Linked DNA regions of Homo sapiens: regions 1 and 3 are each linked to region 2. Evidence: promoter capture Hi-C in human tissues and cell types (Jung and others, 2019). All regions are on one chromosome and are shown on one strand. The core of a region is centred on a gene start or on the middle of the fragment in contact, and the rest is flanking DNA. Distances in the headings are between cores, read along the strand shown. Region 1 has its middle 110 kb from the start of LINC02272. Region 2 holds the start of PDGFC (platelet derived growth factor C). Region 3 has its middle 5.3 kb from the start of LINC02272.

The links. Contacts are between HindIII fragments. The study calls those that stand out against the background at their distance.
Region 1: a fragment that was not itself captured here is called in contact with the fragment with the promoter of PDGFC in region 2 in 1 of the 25 tissues and cell types used here (dorsolateral prefrontal cortex).
Region 3: a fragment that was not itself captured here is called in contact with the fragment with the promoter of PDGFC in region 2 in 1 of the 25 tissues and cell types used here (heart right ventricle).

The regions. Positions count from the first base shown.
Region 1 is chr4:156,527,158-156,531,797 of GRCh38, forward strand. No RefSeq gene overlaps it. Among named protein-coding and RNA genes, the nearest start is that of LINC02272, 110 kb to the right of the region's middle. The HindIII fragment of the contact is 4,616 bases long and covers 312-4,640 here.
Region 2 is chr4:156,969,837-156,974,895 of GRCh38, forward strand. PDGFC (platelet derived growth factor C) reads right to left here and starts at 1,963. Exons shown (of 6, transcript NM_016205.3): 1 at 950-1,963. The coding sequence starts at 1,067. RefSeq lists an enhancer at 1,750-2,250. The HindIII fragment of the contact is 11,394 bases long and covers 1-5,059 here.
Region 3 is chr4:156,645,266-156,650,274 of GRCh38, forward strand. No RefSeq gene overlaps it. Among named protein-coding and RNA genes, the nearest start is that of LINC02272, 5.3 kb to the left of the region's middle. The HindIII fragment of the contact is 3,791 bases long and covers 90-3,880 here.

The DNA.
Region 1 (4,640 bases), core at 1,370-3,869, 440 kb before region 2:
CTGGTTTTTATTTATACACTTTGATAGAAAAGCCAATTTAAGATAATGAAATTTTTCTACCATACCAGTAATGTAGAAACACATATATTGAATGGAAAATTAGTAGGACCATGATAGTTAAAAATGCATGCCTTTACTTAATTCATCCAACAATGTAATGAGTACCTACTACTTGCAAGGTAATGAATTGCACATATACAAATAAGTCAGAAATAGCTCTGGCCCTCATGGAAAGTTTCATATTGTTACTATGTTTTATTCCTTTGGTTTATGCCTGTTATTTCCATGGTAATTAACTGCTCTTATAAAATCAGAGGATATTACTCACTCTTGTATCAATACTAAAAATGTAAATCCAGCCTAGTAACTTCAGGTAAAACAGAACAAAACCAACATTCATTCTTAAAATGGAACTATAAATTCTGAGATATTCTCATAATTCAAACTATTCCTGCTTATTGTCCACAAATATCTAAAAGCCCACAAGAAATAGTTTTTCAGCATCTGAGGCTGTGTTAAAATTCTTCCTCATAGGAATTTACAAATTTTTCTAAAGTTTCTTCCACCAAAGTTTCCGAATAATAAGAAAGGGAGGCTCTATGGTTAAGTAATGTGGGGAAAGAATGTGTTGAAATCATCTAAAACCAGTGTATTTACTGTATAATTTCTCAGACCTTTGAGTATGCTAATGTGCATTGTAACTCACAACAAAATATATCGAATGCAGAATGTAGCATTTCATCAACTTATTTGACTTTGAAACTCTTTATTCAAGTTCTACAAGTACTATTTCTGAGAAATATATTTTGGGGAAAAAATAGGCTAGACAAGCACTTAGGAAGTTGATGAATTCTAAGAGCAAACATGGCTTCACTAAGAAGTCATTTCAGTTAAGCCATTTCCAGTTTTAAATTACTGAACTGTTGTGCCTAGGAGTAGCAGAAAGCATATCTGAGTTTCAGGAAAGTATTTCTTCATGACAGCAGGAAATGTGGGCTAGATGACAGTTTAATTATTTGCCATCACATCAGGTGAAATGAATTAATGCAAATTAATGAATTCATTATTATTTATGAATGTCCAGTTTGTGGACTGACCTTGTAATCCACAGTCTTCGTGAGAAGACAGATGAATTATCACTAAATCTGCAGGAAACAGGAAGAGACAGCTGATATACCAATTCAGTTGTAAACAACTTTTTCTGTAAATGACAAGAGAGTACATATCTTAAGTTTTGTGGGCCATACAGTCTTTGTCATAAGTACTTCCCTGTTACAGCAGAAACGCAACCATAGACAGTTTATAAACAAATGAGCATGATTGTGTTACAATGAAACTTTGTTTACAGAACACGCAGTGAACTGGATTTGGCCCACAGGCCATAGTTTTCTAACCCTTTTATTAGTTGTCAGAGATGGACAAAAAGAATCAGTGGTCTGGCACAATTGACTAGATCAATGAAAATGAAATTTAACAGATTTAACATTTTTGCATTTCAAGCCAATAATTCAACTTCATAAGTATTAGAAAAAGATGGATGGCTTAATAGTACAGTTTAACATAATTGGAAGCTCAATATTCCTCTATTTAATGTGTCTCCCAAGGAAGACAGTGCTCCATCTGTAGCACCAGAGAAGCACCAAATAAAACATTGCCTGGGTCAAACTATACTGGGAGTGTTGGATCAAATTCTAGATCATCCATTTGAAAAGTGCTTTGCAAACAGGAGAGCATACACAAGAGAATGGTTGTTTTCCTGAGACAGTAAGGCATGTTATAAGATAAATTGTTTTAAAGAAAGGGACAATTTAATCTGGAGAATGGAAGACTTCAGTGTACCATACCTCTGTCTTCAGACATGCTAATCCAGATGGATTAGATTCCTCCTCAGTTTTTCCTGAAGTCAAACTGGGAATCATTAAATGTTGAAAAAGTAGGGCAAAATTTAGATTCAACAAAAGAAAGAAATTTTTAAACAAATGTAGCTGTCCCCCAATGAAATAGATAGATGTATTTTCCCTATGGAGGTGTATTTGTCTGTTCGTGCACTGCTTTAAAGACATACACAACACTGGGTAATTTATCAAGAAAAGAGGTTTAATTGACTCATGGTTCCACATGGCTGGGAAGCCCTTTAGAAACTTACAATTATGGCAGAATGCGCGAGAAAATAAGTTTGTGTCAGTGCAGGAAAAACTACCATTTATAAAACCATCATATCTCATGAGAATTCACTCAATATGATGATAACAGCATGGGGGCACCCACCCCCATAATCCAATCACTTCCCAGGTCTCTCCATAAATACCTGGGGATTACAATTCAAGATGAGATTTGGGTGGGGAAACAAGCCCTAACCATATCAGGAGGAAACCTTCAGGTATTGATGAAGTCTCTCTGACTACTTGGGGAGACATTACAGAATGATTCAATTACTAACTAGGAGATGGGTGCTAATAGTTTATTTTCAACTCTAAAAATCTCTAACTTTATCAGTGTTGAAGTTCAAGTCATCAACTCTCTTAATCATGCAATTTTTAAGCTAAGTTTTTAAACTACCATTTTTTAAACTAAGTTTTAATTTCTAGACTGAATGTCAATAAATTCCTTTGCTAATTCGAATTAGAATTTTACCTCTATTACTTGTCTTGCACTTGTTAACTTTTTAGCACAATGTCTACTCAGGTTTAAAATAAAATGTTTGTGATGGAGCATAATAAAGTATTGGACATTAATATTGGTATTTATAATGGTTAACAGTAACTGTGATTGATTAAGGACAACAGCATGCCCTTGGTTTCTGTCTTTGGTTTTAGTATTTACAATGCAATATGACTTTTTAAAAAGCAAGCTATGCAGAAAATGTGTAAATTTTTGATGTGTAATGTGTAAATGATGAGAAACTGCTATCTCACCATCAAGTTGCAATCGAGCTAAGCTACAAATAGCAACATTGATTATAATAAGACTTTGAACTGACCTTGTTCTGCAGATAGATTTTGCATCAGTGTTCTTTGCAGTGTTTACTGGTATATCTGAAACATTTATTCTTGTAATTTGACAATTTGTGCACGTTGAATTAATAATTAAATCGACATGATTAATTCAACATGCACAAATCTTCAAATTAGAAGAAATGTTGAAATTAATGTTGAAATTATTATTGTGTGATATCTGTACAAGTTAGCTACCTGTGGTTAGTATTCTTACAATTTCTCTCTCCCTCAGCCCTATCATTGGTTTCTGTTCTTATCTCACTGAAAAGTACTACGAAGTTTAGCGAGTATTTACTTTCAGGACTTATCAATTTAAATTACAAATTAGTTTTAACTTGTGAATTCAAAGATATGAGAGTTGAAAAAACTTCACAGAAAAAGAAAATCCTTGGAAAAGACTATAAAATACAGAGAAGAAATATGTTATCTTAAAAGGAAGAGGGAAGAGTGTTATTTTTAAGTTGAAATAGTATTTTTCCCTGAATCTGCAACTGAGGAACTATCCCATTAGAGGAAGTTTACAGAGTAAAACTTTTTTCTCCTCTAGACAAAAGTCAGTCTATGATAAGAAGATATCAGAATTAATTTGTATACTTCTTAGCTGTTTTCATTAAAACTGAACATGGCCTATAACTGGAATGGAGGGAATTGTCTCTTTTAATTGGCTGAATGATTCTTTATTCTCTTACGCAGGTGTCAGCCTGTGGCAGGGGGCACATTCAGTGACATAGTGTTGAGTATAGAAATGGTATTATCTTGCTGTCCAAAGGAAAGTTCAGGAAAAAACATCACAAAATTAAAAATAGAAAATATGGTTACGTTATTTTTATCTACCTTCTCTTTAATCACTGAGAAATAAAATTGTTTAAAACAATACTGAAAACATCTTGGATAATGTGAGGAATACATGAAGATATGAATGTTCTTTGCATGAATATTGTCGGCTGTGACAGCTCATTCCACTTCTGGATTATAACGTGCTTCTTTAGGTCTTAGTATTATTGGTTTGTTTTAAATTTTATCATCTGGCTGCACTGTATACAACTTACTCAAAGGAATCTTTTCATATTTTAGTATTGTATATCATTTAAAAACATGATAAAAATGTTTTCAATACAATTTTTATTTCCAAGATAGTGTCAGAAAAGTATATTTAGTATAAGTAAATATTATGCTCCATTAAAAACAGTTAAGCTTTTAATAAACTTGCCTAGTAAAATTCTTTATCACCATTTTCTTATTGAAAACTGGTTTTTGGAGGATGTTGTTCCGATAGATATTAATAAAGATGCCTTTATATCAAAGTGTTCCATGGCCATCTTCTTGAAAATTTACGTTATTAGATTCCAGGAAGCCCTATATGTTTAACTTTATTTTTTCCCATAATTTCTGGGCTTATTTTAGGGATAAACATTATTTAACGGTCTTCAGTTTAGAAAAGCTAAAATAAAAGCTCTTTTTCTGTAACAAACTGAATTCATTTACTGAGATATTCTGTCTAAATCAGGATAAGCAATGCTAGCTGTTCTAATAAAGAACCCTAAAATTACAGTGGTTTAGTATGGGAAATGTTTATTTCTCGTTAGCACAAAATCCAAAGTCAATGAGCTTCATCCACTGTTTCTTGTAGGTGGCTCTTCTCCA
Region 2 (5,059 bases), core at 713-3,212:
CAGCCTAACATGAACATTGTGGTTTCATGTGCAGTATAAAATTTCTATTTACAAAGTATTCTCAAAAATGACTTCATAATGGTAGATGAAGAGAAAAAGAGTTTAGAAATTGAATGATGTAAATCATATGGGTTCAGAGGCTAAGCAAATTACACACCCTGAAGCTGCCCTGGCTTTATGAAAGGAGCCTTTCTCCAGCTCTGTGCAATCCCAGCCCAAGGGAACTTGCATCTGAGAGTTTTCTAAACATTTCAGGTACACTTGAAAGCTGAAAGTAATTCTCATTTCCTATGCAGGATTAAGTCGTTTCCAGCACACACAAAATAGCAGTCATTCACCAACACATACAAAAACACACCACCAGAAAGGTAAGGACTTCAGAGTACAAAGGCAAGTTTAAAAAACAAAAACTAGGGAGCAAGAGAAATACACTTTTTAATTCCTCTAAAAACGACCACACAGCCTCTTGACCTCTATATTTCCTATCTACTCATTGATTAATTGATGACTTCGACCTAGAGTGCTTCAATTAATGCGGCTGATATATTTCCTGACCGACCCCCCTCGCCCTCCCCAAATCTGAGTAAAGTCAAACATGCCAAGGCTCATTCATTTTGGATTCGTTTTTAGAGGCAGTTCTTGAACTTCTAACTTTAGCAATGAGCGAACCTGCAATGTGCATTTGAAATGACGTTCACAATCGCTCCCAGAATGTCCTCACTCAGCAGTGGCACTCACGTTGCCCTCTTGGAGCTTTGTGGCAGCTCCCGAAGTTGCAAACTACACTTAACCTTTAACAGTCCATGCCAATGAACGCAGCGCACATTTGCATGTAATGAGAGACCAAAGATACCTTCACAGTCTGGTATATATCACATACCAACGCACAATGCCAACGTTAACACACACAGCGAGAAACAAGCAGGGGGAGAATGGGGGAAAGACTCACCGTTCTGTTCCTTGTTGCTGGAAAACTGGAATTTACTACTCAGGTTGGATTCCGCCTGAGTCCCCTGTCTCTGGCCGGCCAGGGCAGATGTCAGCAGGAGAAGCCCGAAGAGGCTCATTTGGCTGACTGGGGTGAGAGCTCACTCACGGCGGGCACTTTGGAAGCAGCGACTCCCGAGTCTCTTTCACCACCGCCAGGGGAAGGCTGCACTGGGGTGGAAGCGCCGAGCCTGCTCTGGCAGCAGAGAATCGCAGGGTAGTTTCCACATAATCCCATCCAAAACTTTTTCCTAGAGCCCTCTTCTGTGTCTCCAGTTTTTGAAAAGGATCAAAGCAAAACCTGGACCTGAACCAGTTTCCCAAGGTTTAAACAAATCCTGAGCTGTGGCGAAGTGGTGGGGGTGGGGGTGAAGGCGAGGGAGGAATGAGGGGGTGGGGACGCGGGGGAGCGGCGAGAAGTCCCCAGCAAGTTGCTGGGAGCACCTGTCAGTTCGGGGGACAGGACAGAGGCGAAAACTCAAGGGTTGCCCGCAGCCAGACTGGAAGCCAAGTCGGCGGCGAGCAGTTTCTGATCAATAACAAAGCTGCCAATAGATGCGGCTCTCCGGGCGCCCCTCTCCCCCGCCCCACCCCCCACCCCCGAAGGGGGAGGGGGAAGAAACAAGGCGAGGGCGCCGCGGCGGGTCCCACGGGCCGGGGCGCCGGAGCGGGGCCGGGGGGCTCCGGGCCGACGGCGGCCCGGGCGCAGGCGGAGAGAGGCCGCGGGGCTCCCGCTCCTCAGCCCGGAGCGCAGTTGGCCCCGGGTTCGGAGCGCCGCAGCACGGATTCCGGCACCTGGCTTGAGTTTTCCGCGACCAAAGTTCACCTTGTTCGGGCTCGTCCCCCGCTCCTCAAAGCCTGGGGCAATTCGGCCGCTCGGGGTCACCGCGGGGCTCCGGTTGTTCCCCGTCCCCTCCCCCCACGCCTCGGGCTCCGCGCTAACCTCGGGGCTACGCGCGGCGTCTCCGCACGGGGTGAAGAGGGAAGGCCGGGGCGGCCGGGAGGATCCGGCTTGTCCCCTCCCCTTCTCTACCTTCCCCCCGCCGGGCGGCAGACAGGAGGTGGGGGCCGTGGGCCGAGCCCGGGCGGAGCGCGCGCCTGGCGAGCGGGGGCGGCTCAGCGGCTCTCCCGCAGGCGGCCGATGGGGCGGGCGGGGGTCAGCGCCTCTGGGAGGGGCAGCCCTGGGACGCGTCCGCGCGAGCGGGCTTGGCCGCCCACTGGCTGTCAACAGGTGCTGCGCAGACAGGGGGTGCTGCGGGACTCGCTGTGGGCAAGACCCCGGTGGCCCAGGAGAGGAACGCGGCCAAGGCGGCCCCTGCTTTCCCTTCCACGGAACACCTCTAACCCCAAATACAGAGCACGATGGGTGGTGAAGGGTGCTGCAGAAGTAAGTGGGAAAGAACTTCCTGCAGCTCTCCTTCTCCCGCCCCCTGTCGCCTGACTTGTCATTAGTTTCCAGGAGGGCTCCCCACTCCCTAAGGTCTTTGCTAGGACCCTTGGCCAGAGTTTCAGAACAGAAGGAAGAAGGGAAATGAATTCAAAGGCTTTCCTCCAATTTCCAGCTCCGTAAAGCAGGACAAATAAAGCAAAAGTAAAGGCAGCCAAAATAACATCCATTTAACAAGTACTATATTTACTGAATGCCTACTATGTCGGGCACTGTTTAGAGGTTGGAGCCGTAGCAGTGAAAACAGACAAAAGTCCCTGCCCTCGTGAAGCATACGTAGTAGTTGGGCAGCATTAAGCTAATAGCAAGCTCTTCTGAGAATGGTGTCTAAGGGACTCAGAATGATCCTGCAACCTTGGACTTTCCTACAATACAGCCTCTAACAAAACTAGGCTGCCCTGAACCCCTGGTGATAGAATTGTTTACATTTACACCAAAAAGGTCGAGAAAGAACTGAAATCTCTTGTGGCTTGTGTTCAGGCTGACTTGGAGAGAGAGGCCGATGCTTTAAGACCTAAAGTTCTCATGAGGTAGTCTGAAATGAAACACACATGCCAAGCAGGGCTTATGGTGGTTCCATGTCTGCTAAATATGTCTGTGACAGGATCCAACGTGCTTTCTTTGTGGAGAAGCAGAAAATCATTGTCAATGTGTTAAAGGCACAAGCAGAGAGTCAGAAAAGTTGAATTTTAAAATGAAGCTATTTTTGAGTAATAATCAAAATGAAAACAAGGAAGTGCCATGGCAGGCAAATCAGCAATATCACCCAACTTCTTGTGGAAAAAAAGTCAATGCAAACAATTCGACCATCAAGAACACTTGGGCTGGAACAGAAAACCAAAATAGCAATGTCCCTGAAACTAAGGAGTGGCATTTGGGCAAGAACATATTCTTACTGGACCAAACCAGGGGCTGATCCTTCTTCAGTGGTGAGGAAAATGCCAAGCCCTCTTCTTATATGCGAACACCAACTGGGGCCAACCAACCAGACCTTTCTGCTTGGAATATCCTAGTCTTCTTGTTTTTCCCTTTTAGAAACCTTTGAAAACTTCACCCATCTGTCTCATTCTTGAAAATTTCACCCGCCTGTCTCATTCATTCATTCTTATCCCTTTACCACTTCTATCTACAGAGTACTAAATATACACTAAAGGCAAATAAGGCCTGATCTTTGACTTTAAGGCATTTACAGTTTAGTGGACAGAAGGTTTTTTATCAAGTATGGTATTTTATTCGAGTTAGCAGCTCCACAACACCAGTGTGACTCCATATTTGCATAATGTGTTCCAAAAATATTTTGTAAATTTGTGAGGGTGAAGGGTTATTCCCAATTTTAATAACATAATGGGACTTAAATAAAGGGCATGCCTTATGAATCCATTGTAATCTATTTTTCATAAAATTCATTATTCTCCAGTTTTTCTAATTTTGTAAGTTTAGTTTTCTAATCAGCACTTTTCTAAATGAAATTGTTATATGTCCATATAGTTGAGTTTCCTGACCACCCACATAGAGGTGGGGTGTGTGTGTGTGTGTGTGTGTGTGTGTGTGTGTGTGTGTCTGCAAATGTAATCCATTTGCTCTCAGGAGATTGGAAGGGTGATGACTACTCTTTATTTTGTATCATTTCATATTGGCTAGAATATTGCTTGGCACAGGGGGATAATAAATAAACACTCTTGACTGACTGACAGGTTTCTTTATTGGAGTCACTTACATTCTCCCTGGAATTTCAGTGCGATAGTTGTATTTGAAAAGTTACAGATGATCTAGAATAATACTCTACCTCTGCGTTTCACCTCATCCATATTCTACAGATTGATTTGACAATCGCCTTATAAATAAAGTCAGCCAGGTGTTCCTGAATGACCCCTAGACAAAATCACATCCACATTGGCCAATTTCCTTTCAATGTACTTGCATTGTCATTTCTTGAACTGCTCTTGCCCTTGACGTAGTTGATTCTTTTAACACATTATCCTCTGCCTGTCTTCCTGCTCTATTTTGCTTGTTAACCTTTTCTAGAAAAATGAAATCTTTGCATTGAAAGTAAATTTTATATAATCCAGAGTCTGTGCAATTACTAAACAATATATTTTAAATGAATATGGCTTTGTTTTGGCCAAAGGCATTTTCCTTGATGAAAGGCATCTGTTCCGCCAACCAAGAGAAAATAATTTCAGACATTCTTTGTGGTTTTCATGTTTTCTTAAACCTTAAGAAGGAGTGCCCATTGCTGCTGCATGCATGAAGAGTATTACCACAAATTCTTACTAAAGAATACACTTGGTGGTTAACAATGATAATTTGGGGGAGGGGGTGTCACTACTAAATGTTTTTAAGTGAAATAAGATTTTAAAGCAACCTACTCCTTTAGCTAGCCACTTAACACTCAAAGGGGCGGGAACCATGGGGACATATTTTTGCCACCAAAAAAAAAAATCTACGTTTTCTTGCTCTTTATTTTTCTGTTTTGATCCTAACACACACACACACGTGCATGCACACACACACAGAGGCATATGTGCAAAGTTATTTTAAGACTTTTCCTGGAACATTTCAGTATTTTAGTGGCAGATAATTGAGCATGATTTCCTGAAGTTCAGAAAGCTTTCTTCTACCTAA
Region 3 (5,009 bases), core at 735-3,234, 320 kb before region 2:
CTTAGAAATATGCTCCCTGACAATAATGTATGCTCCAAAATAAACTCCCTCTGATTCTTTTTATCTTTCCAATAATCTATACTCTTTGAATCTGAGCCAGCATGTAGCTAGAAATTTGGAATAAAATATCTATATTGGTAAACAGTGGTTTCTTTTTAAGTGGAAAAACCAGTGTTTTCTTTTTAAGCAAAAGGATAATTTATTGGCTGCTTTAATTAGGAAATCAAAGTAATTGTATAACCTTTAGTCACAACTAGATCCAGAATTGTGAAGAATGTCATTAAGAATCTCTCACTCCTCTGTTTTTCACTCAAATCATTTATTTTTAGCCACGTTCCATCCATGAACAATCAAAATAGCTCTGGAATGCTGTAGCTTTACGTGATACTTAGTATTTGCAATCTCAGAGGAATGGAGATCCTTTCTCCCCTGGTATACATATAATTTCCCCCAAAAATGCCTTGATTGGCTCTGCCTGGATTATATGGCAAAACTGGACAATCACCAAAGCCAGTGAGATGGGATCAGTGATTAGTTAGCAGAGATCAATTTCCATTTCTGTGGCAAGCAACTAGGTGTTGTGATTGAGAAACTACCATTTAGGAAAGGGGAAGCTCACAAAAGGAAAAGAAGGGCCATTTTCCGATGCCACCTCTGTGGACTGAATGACCTGTTCACTATATTAGAGATGTTTTCATTCCTTGAGAAAATTTGATACTACAATTATTTTCCATTGAGTGAGATTGCTGGTAATGTCACTGGGATATTGAAAAAATCATTTTACCAAAGGACCCTTCCAGAATCCCCTTAAGGATGGCTCATCTTCTTTTGCTTTTTATTTTATTTCCATGATGATTTAATTCCAAGGTTTGCTGCTCTCTGAAAATATAAGTGAATTTATCGCTTTTCAAAGAACACTTGAGAAACGAATCAAGAGTCAAAGAACCAAAATACACACATACTTCTCATCTGCATTGTAGTCATAGGGACAAATTTTCTGAGAAGTTGGTTTCCAGTTCATTTCTAAAGCATTGCTATAAAAAAATCATTCTCAGTAAATACATCATATCATTATTGTTGAAGTAAATCAAGGAAAAAGGAAAAGAAATATGGAGGGTACATATTATTTTTCCAAAATACAGTTCTTCAACTTCCATCTCATACCCCTGGTGAAAGATTATCTTTACTTATTATGTTATAAATTAGGCAGAATCTTGGAATTACCTCACACAAAACTACTCTGACAGCCTCTTTGAACCTGACATAGTTTAGACTATATTTATTCATTTGGAGCCTACCTCTTCTCTAAAGATAATGAATTCCTGACAAAGAGTCAGAGCTTTTAGATATTTGACATCAGGTAAAATCTTGCCCATTTTTTTCTAAATAACTATAAAATCTGGCATGAAATATTTAGGATCTTAGATTGTAATTTTTAAATAAATACTACCCATCAATAAATTTGTATGTTAAGCACATATGTTGAGCTTGGATTCAAGGATGCTGCGGGCTAAAGTATTAATAGTTTAAAGCTGGAGCATCATCAAATGATGCTGAGAATGATGTTCCACCATTACATAGCATTGGAATGCAGTATTAAGAATTTACTATGAGACAACATAGCTAAAACATTTCAACAGAACAGATGATCATATTTGTAACTTCAATTAATATCAAATGCCAAAACTTCTCAGTGCTTTGCAAATTCTGTGTACTGTTAAATTGTCCAATTATTATTTCAAAGCTGTGGTGACACTTCTCAGTCCATCCAGGCACACATCTCTCTCTATCTCTGTCTCCCTTTCCCTTCCTCTCTCACTTCAAACATACACACAGATGCATATATATGAAGTCTCTCTCTCACACACACACACAACTTGCAAATACAAAAATATATTCTTCCCATTATGGATTTTCATTGTACTTGGTGGAAAATCTCTTCAGACCATGTGAGACTTAAGACAGACTTTGATCTGGATGTTGATATCACATTGGTTCATAGACATCGGTTCAAAACTCTGTATGAAGCTTTCCACAATTATGTTGTAACCTTGGTATTCCATTCTCTGCATTGCCGTCCAAGTACTGAGGTAAAAGAATGCCATGGCAGTGTTCAGCCCTGGAATTTCCATTAAAAAATGTGACCATGTGCATGGTGTAGATGAAAGCAAGATGCCCTGAAAGCTTTTGTTAAGCAAGTTGAAATAAGGCAGGTTATAACTTTCAGAGTCACTGGGACATAGCCTTAAACAACGAAGCAAAAAAGTAGGTGGATGGAAACTACAGCAACTGCCGAGACAGCTCCACATAGCTTTAAGGGAACTTTTTATCTTTTTTGAACAAAGATGTCAGACTAGTCAGACTGTCTGGAAATCCCAAAAAGAAAAATTTCAGCATACTTTCCAGATGGTAGAGGAAAATATCAAATACAAACCCTATCATATGTTTCCCCATTTTGTTGTGGGGTGTCATGTTTTTACCTATACTCATGGATCTTAATACCAGTCATATTCACTTCTAAATTAAAGTGCAACAAGAAATAGTCAAAGGCAAATATGTGTATATATATATATGTAAATATATGTGTGTGTGTGTGTGTGTGTGTGTGCATGGATAGTGCATGTATATACACATATACATGATAATATCTAATACAGTAAAAAATATACAGGAATTGGATATTCTTTTGTGAATATTTTAGATGATAAAATGAAGCCCCATGAAGTATTAAATTTTGAAATAACTTAAAGAATGTAATTGGATTGTTTGTAACTCAAAAGATAAATGTTTAAGGGGATGGATACCCCATTCTTCATGATGTGCTTATTTCACATTGCATGCCTGTATCAAAACATCTCAGGTACCCCTTAAATAGATACACCTACTGTGTATCTACAACATTTTTTAAAAATTAATTTTCTTAAAAAAGGAATTTTCAAATGTTTATCTTTCTATAACCAAACTGTTAGTCACATTATCACATTTGAAATAATTTTTAATAGAGTTTAAAATATTGTTAATGATAGATTGATTATAAAACCTATTTAGATCTCTGGATATAATTTTCAATGTGCTTTTACATTTTCTACTGCTACTTATAATTATTTATCTTGCTGTAACATCAAAATTTTCATTACTGTCACTCTGTCTGCTCCCGGCCAAACTCCCTACACCTCCTTTCATTGGCCTTCCTGTTACTAGTTTGGATGATTAACAAAGTTGTCAAGCTTGTTAAAAGTGTCTTTTCCAAATTAAAATAATAAAACAAAACATCAAATTAGAAAATATCAGGATAGCTATCCCTAAGGCCATTTCACACAACTTTCCTACACACTGCCTAAGAAAGCCAGAAAAATGATAAAACCCAAACTGAAAACTAGGAAAGTCAATTCAGAAGAGATTCTATATACAACAAAGCAGATTGGATTAAATCAAAAAGTACAATTGATGGTCTAAGTGTGGAGAACCTGCCCACTGAAAGAAAAATGGAAAGACCTGGTAACTTCCTTTTCATCTCTGTCCACTGGGTCAGCTGCGCAAGATACATACCAACAAGAAAACCAGTTACCCCACTACTTAACAGATGGTGCATTCAATTGATCCAAAGCACCCTCTTTCTTAATCTAAATCTAATCCTACCTTCCACCCCAACACCTCAACACACACACACTCATACTTCTTTCATTCTTTTGGAAAATAAAGCCTAAAGAAAGAAAGTAAACAGGAAGAGAATACAATGTGTTTAAAAAAAAGATTGGAGTGATTTTATGACATTTTAGAAAATGTAACCCTCCAAGCTAAGATTTGTAGATGGTATGAAAATTCTCAATAAATTTTTAAGAAGTGGATGTAATTTTTATATATCCCATTGCTTTGCAATCTAATATTTATTCTAAAGATAAGATTTTATTCAGAATTGGGCTAGGAGTTGTGCATACTAATATCAGATAGTACAATGACTTAGTTGATTTAGTTGTGCTAGAAAAATCTATATGATATCAGTGAATTAAGGATGGGGCAGTCAACATGGCGTGTTTATAAGAAACACCAGACCTGCAGACATCTCTACTATTTCAAATAAGAATTAAAAAAAAAAGAAAGAAAACTAAAGGGTCTTAGAAAACATTGCAGAACAGGGAAAAGGAAAGCTCATTCTGTAGGCTAAATACTTGTGCAAGTCACCAAGCAGCCAGAATAATTGTTCAAAAAGTATGGCATTTGCAGAAAAACTCAAAAAGACTGAGAAGAATTTCATGTAAAACAAGTGCAAAAGCCTTTAAAAGATTCATATTTTAAAAGGTCCAAAGTTTTTAAAAGTGAGATAGATTGGCTAGAGGCATTACACTTTCTGATTTAAAAACATATTACAAACCTACAGTAATGAAACCAGTATGGTACTGATATAAAATAGATATATGGACTAATGGAACAGAATAAAGTCTAGAAATAAACCTATGCATGTGTGATCAACTGATTGCTCACAAGGGTGGCAAGAATACACAATGGGGAAAAGATAGCCTCTTCTATAAGAAGCTTTCAGAAAGCTGTGTATACACATCAAAGAACAGAAGTGAATCCTTATTTCACACCACACACAGGAACCAAGTTAACATGTATTAAAGATTTAAACATAAAATTTGAAATAGTAAAAATCCTAGAAGAGAACATGTGGGAGTGTAGCTTTATGAGATGGTCTTGGAAATTACTTCTTGGATAGACATCAAAAGCACAGACAACAAAATAAAAAATAGACAAATGAGACTATATCAAAATAAATACCTTCTGCACAGCAAAGAAAACAATCAACAGAGTGAAAATGCAACTTCCAGAATGGGAGATAATATTTGGAAACCATATATCTAGTAAGGGATTAATATCCAAAAGATATCATGAACTCCCACAACTCGAAAGCAAAAGAAAATGAAATCACCCTATTAAAAATGGGAAAGACACTTAAATATATACTTCTGCAATGAAAACATACAAATGGTCAAGAAAATGAAGAGATG